3 separate regions of the Homo sapiens genome follow, and regions 1 and 3 are each linked to region 2. The links are contacts of gene promoters, found by promoter capture Hi-C in blood cells and fetal thymus (Javierre and others, 2016). All regions are on one chromosome and are shown on one strand. Each heading gives the region's core, a stretch centred on a gene start or on the middle of the fragment in contact. The rest is flanking DNA. Distances are from core to core; before and after follow the strand shown.

Region 1 (3,442 bases), core at 201-2,700, 120 kb after region 2:
CAACTAGGCTCCCCGTAGAATGTGAGCTCCTGTTCCTGCGGGGAACAGGAGCGGGTGTGGCCCACCAGGATGCAGCTGGGGCCCTGCTGGGTGAAGCTCTGTCCTCAATTTGTGGGACGCCTCAGGGCATGTCAGTACTGCTCTCTGAGCCTCACTCCTGCACAGATTCTTTATAAAGATGCCTGGCACCGGCTTGCTGAAATATTTGTCAGATTGAATTGAAAGAAAATGAGAGTGCTTTGCGAAGTGCTTTTCAAATACACTGATTTGTAATTTTAACAATAGGGAGAATTTGTTATCCTCTTAGCAGCTGGTATGAAGACTTTTCCCACAGAGAAGGGTGCATGGTTGGATTAGGAAAACAAGGTACTAGGGAGGGGACAAGGCTTCCTTTTAACACCCCAAGATGCAGGAGGGCAGAGGGGCCATGACACGATGGGGGTGGGGACAGCAAAAAGCAGGGAACCCAAAACACTCAGAGAAGACACCTGTCCATGGGACCATTTTGAGTGGCCCTACCAAGCTTCAGTGAAGCGACCAGAAGTCCCGATATGGTCTGGGGAATTGTTTTTCTTGTAGAACTCAAGAAAGTTAGTGAATTTGGTACAGGGATAGCTCATGTGTGAAAGGGAGTTACAGAGATTCCTCTTTTCCATTATATGCAGCATATAATCATAGCCAGAAGTTCCTAAAATGCTTATATTCCTACGTAGTACGTAAGTATCCCTGTATACTATATACCTGTGTACTATTAGGTTGATGCAAAAGTAATTACGGTTTCACTATTACTTTTGATGGCAAAAACCACAGTTGCTTTTGCACCAACCTAATATATAGGTCTATTTTATACACACACACACATATATATATATATGTCTAGGCTGGGCACAGTGGATTATGCCTGTAATCCCAGCACTTTGGGAGGCCAAGGCAGGCAGATCACTTGAAGTCAGGAGTGGGGGACCAGCCTGGCCAACATGGTGAAACCCCATCTCTACTAAAATACAAAAATTAGCTGGGCATGTTGGTATGTGCCTGTAATCCCAGCTACTCAGGAGGCTGACGCAGGAGAATCACTTGAACTTGGGAGTTGGAGGTTGCCGTGAGCCGAGATCACACCACTGCACTCAAGCCTGGGTGACAGAGTGAGACTCCATTTCAGGGGGAAAAAAAAAAAAAAAAGGTATATGTAATAATACCGTAAAATTCCTAATTAATATCTATGACACATACTAGAATCTGCCCCTATTTTATAAGACATAGTCTCAGGACTGTAGAAGAAAATCATTGCCAACATGTATTGAGGGCTGTATTAATTAGGTCACAGTAGCTACTATGTTGGTGGCTGGACACAGTCAAATTTCATTTCTGTCTCACGTCAATGCCCCCAAGGACTTCCTAAATGTGTCAGGCACTGTTCTGACTACTCAACATGCATCAGCTCAGTGAACCTCCACGACAATCTGCCAGGGAAGAATTCTTGTTATCGCCACTCTCAGGTGAGGACACTGAGTGATGCACAGCTGGACCCAGGCAGTCTGGCTGTGCAACCTGCATCTTACCCACTGTGCATACGCCCCAGCATACACCCAATCTTTCTTCCATTCAGAGAAGGTTAAAGGACATTCACTGTGCCTATGCTGGTGCTGGAGATAAGACAGTGAATGAAACAAAGTCTCTGCTGTCAGGAAGCCGATGCTCTGGTGATTGTAGAGTCTGTGCTACTTATCGGTTTTTAGAAAGGCCACATTCAAGAGTTCACGTGCTCATCAGTGAACACTGGGGAGGACCTGCCTGTGACACTGTGCTGGGATTTGCCCCAGGCCAGTTCTCACCTTCCCAGCAGGCACCGAGGAAACATTTAGAGTCAAAAGATCCTAGTTTCAGCCCTGATTCCGTCATTTCCTAGCCACAAGCACTTGCTCAGATAGTTCAGCCTTTCTGAGCCTCAGTTTCCTCATCTATACAATGAGGATGATAATACCCCCCTCACAGGCCTGTGGTGGAACCAAAATGAGCTGTAGTTCAAAACCCAAAAGTCCAGCCCCCAGGGGGCTCAACTTCCTCCCCACCCCCATATTTATTTCAGAGCAGTTGGCGGCTGGGTTTGGTGAATTCCGTGCGGAATTGCAGATGGGAAAGTGTTTTGCAGGCTCTTCTAAAGGGCTGTGGCAGCATCTGGCAGCACCAGTGCGGGGTGTGTCCCCTTTAGAAAGTGATCTGCTACTTTCTCACATGTAAAATGCAGGATGACTCCCAGCTATGCTGGGGCACAGAGACGGGCTGAGGAGCATTCATCGGCCTCCTGCGTGGCAGTCCCCAGCTCGGAATCAAACCTCCACTGCTGCCAAGCCTCCGCTAATCCTCAGAAGCTTCAGTGCAGGGACAGAAGGCAGCGTTTTGAAGTCGTCGGCTTTAGATCCTCTCTGCAGTACTGCGGGTGTGTGTGTTGTGATTCACCAGGCAGATGTCCAAACGGACAAAGCGAAACCTTCCTTCAGGGGTGAGGGAGAGGGCTGAGTGAGTTTCCAAAGAGCCAGAAGTTGGGAAGAGGCAGGTGGGCCCTAAGCGCCCCCAAAACTATGATGTTTCATGTGCTCCTTCTCCCCTTGTTTTGCAGGGAATTTCAAAGGTCTGTGCAAGCAAATTGATCACTTCCCAGAGGATGCAGATTACGAAGCTGACACAGCAGAATATTTCCTCCGTGAGTGCACACGATTGTTTTTATCTCCCTCCTGGTGGTGGGCCCTGCCCTTCCATCCTTCACAGAGTCAAGGACCAGGCCTACCTAGAGGCCCTCATCACAGCAGAGGGCAGGAAAAAGCTAAGCCTCTCTCCTTTCCGGAGTACAGACCTTCATATGTGCTGTTCCCTCTGCCTGCAATGCCCTTCCCTGCCCGTCTTTGTCTGGCAAACTCCTACTCAGTCGACCTCCAGGTCTCAGCTAAAACATCACCTTCTCCAGGAAGTCCTTCCTGCCTTCTGCATGAGTTCCTAGAGGACGGTACTTTATCATGCTGTAGGGTCCTTGGCTATTTGAGTAACCATCTCCCAACTCTGCTAGGGTATGGACTCACCCTAGCATTCACCATTATATTCTCAGCCCAGTGCTTGGCATGTGATAAGCACTCAGTGAATATTTCTTGAATAATTGGATGAAGTAACCCACCAGGCAGTGCCAGATTGGAACTTCTAATGAAAAAAAAAAAAAGAGAGAGATTTTTTCTTCCCCCGCAAGTCAAGTAAGTCAAAGTTAAATCCTGATGTAACAGCTGCAATCTTAAATCCACCTGAGACATATTATCAAGAGAAAGCATTCTGAGGCTCCAAGGAAATGTCTCAAGTATCAGCAAAAACTAACAAGGCTACCTATTCCCTGAGAAAGGGATTTCCAAGAGAGGGGCTGAGAGTCCTTGAGGCCTGGGACAGCAAAGCCGAGGTT
Region 2 (3,105 bases), core at 53-2,552:
GGACCCTCTCCCAGATACCAGAAGCACAGCAATTGCCCCTCATGGGAGCCTTTCCCTTCTAAGAAAAGAACAGAGTGGGAGAAAGGAAGTTTTGTGCTGGGCGAAGAAACAGGTAGTTTTTCTATGTCAAAAAAAATACACTGGTCATACCTGCAGACCAACTCTGACCTGAGCGAAGGAAGTTAGGCAATGGACTTTACACCAAAGAAAGACTGTTTTTAATTCACTCATCTTTTATATACCTCTGATAATCACCAGACCACTGAGAAAGATGTCAAGCAAATAATCTCAAGAAAAAAAGTAGAGGGAGAGAGAAGAAAGTACTGAATAATTGAATTATGGGATTGAAACCTCTCAACTCCCCCTGCCTCAATAGACTCATCATACTCACATCCTCTCCAGGGTCCCCCCCGCAACACACACACACACAAAATATCAAAAACATGAACCCATCTCATGCCTCATGTGCTCTTACTCACTTAACCATAAAAGTGATCAGAGAAAAAAATGTAATCCGTAGCAGCAGGAATTAATGTGCTTCTTTCTACCAGAGGTCACGTTAAGGAAAAGTTGCACATAAGAGAAATGAAAGGTGACACTGTAATTAACCCACAAACAATGATTCTTCTGAGAAAGAGGGGAGGGTTTCGGTGTTCCAGTGTTCATGGAAGGAAGATTTTTTATCTCTTCCCAACCAGTTTATGAATGACATAGGATACTTAGAAGGATTCACATTTCACCCACTTCCCCTGAGAACATGTTTATCCTTGCAATGAAAATCATTGCCCAAGCCCCAGCTACGAGTCGCCCTTTTGCACCCTTTTCCACGAATAATCTTCCCAAAATGTCTGCTTGTAGAAGCAAGATTTGGAATTTCACGGAAAACTACAGAGAGACACAGAGCAATGCACACCCCCTGGTAAGCCAGAGAGAGACAAAGAGAAGAGAGAGGAAAACCGAAAGAAGATACATCTAACGGACCAACAAAATAAAACAAATCCCCAGCAAAGCAAAGTGAAAACAATGATTTAAAAAACACATAAAGACGTGTTTGTAATTACCCGTCCAGGTTACATGTTCGCCGCTTCCAGGCAGAGAAACGGCTGGTTGAAGTTTTGTGCCCGTCTGACTGTGATGGGAGGGTTGTATTTGAAGCTCTGGGCACGTAGAGATGGAATGAGAAGGAGGCTGAGCTGGAAGAAACACCAAGGGGGGAGGGAAGGGGGGAGAGAGAGAGAGAGAGAGAGAGAGAAAGAGAGAGAGAGAGAGAGAGAGAGAGAGAGAGAGAGAGAGCGCGAGCTATCTCTAGCTACGCCTTCCTCTAAGCTCCGGGAGCCCAGGAGAGCGCTCATTTTAGGATTTGGGAGAGGGGTAAAAAGAGGAAAGGCGGCCCCCGCTCTGCGCTGGCCTTGCTGCCCCGGGGAGGGAGGACTCTGGCCAGCGCCCCCCTCCTGGCGGGCGGCCCTGGGAGCCAGCCGGGGAGCGCGCGGAGCGGGCGGCGCAGGGAGCTGTCCGGTTCAGCACCACCCGTAATGCAGTAGGTGGGAGCGCCTCCGCGGGCGCCCAGCCGGTAGCGAGTGGGGGGCAGGCGCGCGGCCCACCCTGCAGCAAGACGCCGGCTCCCTCGTTTCCAGGAGCTTTGCAGATAGGGGGAGGGAAATCCGCCTCGATTCTCCAGGAGAAACCCCCTCTCTCCCCCACTTCGCCAACACTACCCCCGCCACCAACAACAATAACCGCCGCCGCTGCTCGTCCTGCTGCCGCCGCCGCCGCCGCGCCTGCCCGCCCTGCCGCCGCCGCCGCCGCCGCCGCCGCTGCCCGGGCAAAACCATGGAAAGCGAGACCCCCGCACCTGTGCAGCTGAGCTCAAGGGCTTACAGAATACTGGGAAGTCTGGTCTGAAACGAAAGCGCCGAGACCCCCCAAGGAAGAGAACTGGCGAAGCAAAGGATTTTCATGGCGCAGGCCGCAGAGCCGAGAACGAAGACCGAAGGTTGCATCTCGGCTCTCACAGTCTCTAACTGTCTAGGTCCCGACCATGAGAAATGGTGTTGAGAATTCGGCTGTTCCCTGGTTCACTGTGGAAGCCATCTCCAAATTAACTATCACATATGGAAACTGGAGACCAGAATTTTAGAAAAAGAGATTAAGGCATCTCACTTGGGGGGGTGGGGGGTGTCTTTTTATTTTTTTTTTCCTTTTCTTTTTAAAAAAAAAACACTGCAACTGGAACAGTTTCTGATCTCAAAAGGCAAGCCTCTTCCCGTGTGATCTTTATAATTTACACTCTTTTCCGTGAGCTTTCTTACCTCCCTTTTTTTATAACTCTCCATATTCTCTATTCATACATATATCCATTATATTAGTAGTGGAATAATTTTTATTTTTATTTATTTTTTTTGGCTTTAGTACTTGCACCCTCACACACACTCTCCCGAGAACCAGAAGTCGGTTGGGTGTTTATATAATGAAGAATTATGGGGCTGTTTGATCGAGGTGTTCAAATGCTTTTAACCACCGTTGGTGCTTTCGCTGCCTTCAGCCTGATGACCATAGCTGTGGGAACCGACTATTGGCTCTACTCCAGAGGGGTTTGCAAGACCAAAAGTGTCAGTGAGAATGAAACCAGCAAAAAGAACGAGGAAGTTATGACCCATTCCGGATTATGGAGAACCTGCTGCCTAGAAGGTACTTGACTTCCCATCTCCTCCCCCCTCTCCACCCCACCCCTCCCCTTTCACTCCCCCCTCCCCACCCTCCTCCAAATAAGTCCCCTTTACATTCCACCATTTTCTTAGTTCACTCCTTCCACCACCAATCAAGGTTGGTTGGGTTAGTTTCAGAGGAAAGAAAATCAATAAGCAAAACCCATACTCTACTCCCTCGCCTCCGCCACCCCCTCATCCCCTCAAACATCCTCATTGGAATAATCTATGACATGGTGAAAACGACAAGAGATTGTCTCTAAAAGTCAAAGGTGTTCTGCCTGCTTTGGAGTCATTAGGATTTACCATCCGATTTAGCATTGCCATCTATGAGAGGGTAAAATAATTGCTTCTGTGTATGCTGTTTCTCTTTTCGCAATGAAGAATTCAAAAATGCTCT
Region 3 (3,167 bases), core at 14-2,513, 89 kb after region 2:
GAGTCAGATGACATAAGTTTCTGAGTTGAGGGTCTTTGGGGCAAATGATTTTACTTTTCTGAGCTCTGGATTTGAAAAATAGGAGAGATAAACACTCCATCTACCACGTGTGTGGTTGAATAATATTATGTGAGGAATAAATAAGAGAATGTTTGAACATAGACACACTTTCATACCTTGACATGCAGTACATCTGTGAGTTCTTTCTTTTTTTAACTAACACAATTTTTTTAACTAACACTATTTTTTTTAACTAACACTATTGTGACATTATTTCTTTGGAAAGCAGAAAGCTAAATCAGACTGTTCCACAAATATTTACTGAGCACCTGCTACATGCCAGTCATGGGTCTATACTCTGGTGCTGCAACAGTGAGCAGAGCAAAGCCCCGCCCTCGTGGATCGTCCATTCTAATGGGACTAACAGTAAACATAAAAATAAATAAAAATGTGATAGTGGTAAGATGAATGCAGGGTACGTGATAAGAAGAAAATTAACCCAGCTGGGGGAACAGAGAATGATGGTCATATCATTTTTGTCCTGAATAAGTGAGGAGCCCATCATGCGGATGCAAAACAAGAGCATTCTAGACAGGGGAGCCATGGTGCAAGAGGCCCAGAGGGGAAGTCTGCTTGTTGTATGGAAAGAGAAATCAGGAATCCAGTGTGGCTGAGCAGTCAGATTGTGGAAAGCGGCAGTTGAGCGTAGCAGTCATCACAGACTAAACCAAGAAGGGCCCTGCAGGTGTGGTACCCATGAGATACAGGAAATCCAACCACTGGGCAGTAGTTTGTGCAGTTTGTTCACTAGTCTTATCTGTGAGATTCCTGCCAATCACTACAAACCTTGTACACACACTTGCCCTCCCAACCAAATCAGATGCAGCCTTATAGGCTGTAGTGGACATATGGCTGCGAATACCTTCATTCAATTCATTTATTCTCCAGACATTTACTGGGCACCTGGTGCAAGCCAAAGCCCTGGATGGGCAGTGGAGGTACATTGTGAACAAAATACACATAGTCCGTTCTCCAAGAGCAGACCTCTGCTAGAGAGGGAGATAGGAAGTAAACTGCATCACAGTGACAGAGGCCCTTGTCATCTGGCACCGCTCAAGAGATGAGGCAAGGACAAGGGAAGCTTGGAAAGGCGAAATGCATTCTTCCCCCAGACTCCGAAGCTTCTTTCTCCATGTGCAGTAAGTCCACGGACATAAGCCATTATGTCAGTACTGCCAATTCCAGATCTCAGCTAGTAACGAGCAAATGGATCGTTGCAAACCACAGAAAATCCCCAAACCTCCTTTGAGTCAATAGGTGTGTTCTCTTCCCTCCACAAGCTTTTCAGTAACTACGCTAAGCCCAGCAAAATTGATTATGGCATCACAGGCCTCACCACTTGCTGCTCCCACCACCCTGCCTGCTCTCTGTGGATGTGCTGACCCGGGGCTGGATGGTGCTTGGGTGCATCGGAAACATGAGAGGGTGGACAGGCTGCCTCTGCCTCTGCCTCAGGATACAATGATGAATGCAGCAGCTCTTCAAGGGGCTTTCACACCAGTGGAGGAGACAGGCAAGGAAGCAGGCCACAGGCCTTTCAATGTAGTCCAGGAATGTCGCCATACCAAAGAGTGCGGGGTGCCATGGGAACCAGAAGGAGCTGCCGGCTCAGGATTTGGGGTGATGTGGGGGAAGGGACAGTCTTCAAGGAAGCCTTCCTCAAGGAAATGATGTGTAAACTGAGCACTAAGGCATCAATAGGGAGTATCCAGGGGTGGGCAGAGAGGAGAAGTGATAGAGAAGTGAGTTGGGAAGGACAGCCAGGAAGCACGTGGCAAACGTCCAGAGATAGGAGAGAGCGTGGTGGGTCCTGGGACTTACAACAGGATGTAGTTTCTGAAGATCAAAGCAGCTGTCGAATTGTGGTGGACCCTGTTGACCTTGTCAAAGAGTTTGGACGTCATCCTGTAGGAATGGGGAGGCACTGAGGAGAGGCAGCTCCGATTTCACCTTTTGTAAATCACAGTGACTACAGAGTGGAAGTAATCAGTGGTAGGGAAGAGGGAAGCAGGGGAGCCACTTGGGGGTTGGAGGGTGTTCTGAGAGTGCAGGGAACGGTTGGTAGGGGTCCAGATTCAAGACATGTTAAAGAATTGGCGATTTGCTGGGAGTGGAGATGAAGAGGTAGAAATCAAGGATGACTCCAAGGTTTGCAGCTTGGGAAATGGGCTGGAGGAAGGCATGATTTATTATTGAGCCAGCATAAGAGGATGGGGGAAATGGACACTAAGTTCAGGTTGAGGTTCAGATATCTGTGGGATATTCACGGGGGGACAGCCAGCGCACCAAGAACTCAAGGGAAAGAAGACAGGACTGGGTTGTATATAAAGACTTGTGGGTCATCAGTATGTAAGTGAAAACGGAAGCCAGAGATGAGATTTCTGAGGAACATATGTAGAATGAAAAGAGAAGACAGCCAAAGAGAGAGCCCCAGAAACACCAAATGTACAAGATAATCAGAGGAAGAGGACCTTGCAAAGGAGTCTGAAAATGAACAGGAAGAAAACCAAGCAACCTTGAGGACCCAGACGCCAAGGGAAGACGGCACATCAAGAAAGAAGCCAGGTGGTCAGATTACTCAAATCATGTCAACGGTGCATAGCAAAAGCTGTAGGGGCATGTGTAGATGCTGACTGTAGGGACATGTATAGAAATGCCTCCCACACTAGCACTTGAGGGAGAAAGGTATTAGAAACCTTTGCATTTTGCTTTTTCATTACTCCCTGCTGTGCATGAAAGTACAGGTGTGAAATCCAAGATTCATTTACTGCAGTGTTCCCCAAAGAGTGATCCAAAGATTGTAGCCCCGTGAGATGAAAGACACACATGCACACACACACACACACACACACACACACACACAGAGAGCCTGTAATGAAATGAACTTTTGGAAACATTGAGCACTATATTCCCACATTAGAGTTTGACAATGCAGTTAGCATAGTAAAGGCACAGAAAAGCCCTGAGGTAAGGAAACCTATTTAACCTCCCCTTGTTCAGCATTTCCCAAACTTACTTGCCAGTGGAACCCCTTTATTTTGTATCTCCTCTTAGCATCTCCTGGGGCTGGAATCAGCAGAATGAACTTTGGAAATCACAGCATTAGC

What was found. The method cuts DNA at HindIII sites, captures the fragments that hold promoters and counts their contacts. A CHiCAGO score of 5 or more calls a contact.
Region 1: a contact is called between a fragment that was not itself captured here and the fragment with the promoter of CACNG2 in region 2, in 1 of 17 cell types (endothelial precursors). The highest score is 5.2, in endothelial precursors.
Region 3: a fragment that was not itself captured here is called in contact with the fragment with the promoter of CACNG2 in region 2 in 2 of 17 cell types (M1 macrophages and endothelial precursors); the score reaches 6.9 in M1 macrophages.

The regions. Positions count from the first base shown.
Region 1 is chr22:36,586,727-36,590,168 of GRCh38, reverse strand. CACNG2 (calcium voltage-gated channel auxiliary subunit gamma 2) reads left to right here. Exons shown (of 4, transcript NM_006078.5): 2 at 2,621-2,704. Among named protein-coding and RNA genes, the nearest start is that of EIF3D, 59 kb to the right of the region's middle. The HindIII fragment of the contact is 1,849 bases long and covers 526-2,374 here.
Region 2 is chr22:36,701,949-36,705,053 of GRCh38, reverse strand. It overlaps CACNG2 (calcium voltage-gated channel auxiliary subunit gamma 2), which reads left to right and starts at 1,302. Exons shown (of 4, transcript NM_006078.5): 1 at 1,302-2,688. The coding sequence starts at 2,478. It overlaps CACNG2-DT (CACNG2 divergent transcript), which reads right to left and starts at 1,178. Exons shown (of 4, transcript NR_134623.1): 1 at 1,062-1,178. The HindIII fragment of the contact is 12,752 bases long and covers 1-3,105 here.
Region 3 is chr22:36,612,913-36,616,079 of GRCh38, reverse strand. The region is part of intron 1 of CACNG2 (calcium voltage-gated channel auxiliary subunit gamma 2); the gene reads left to right. Among named protein-coding and RNA genes, the nearest start is that of EIF3D, 85 kb to the right of the region's middle. The HindIII fragment of the contact is 159 bases long and covers 1,184-1,342 here.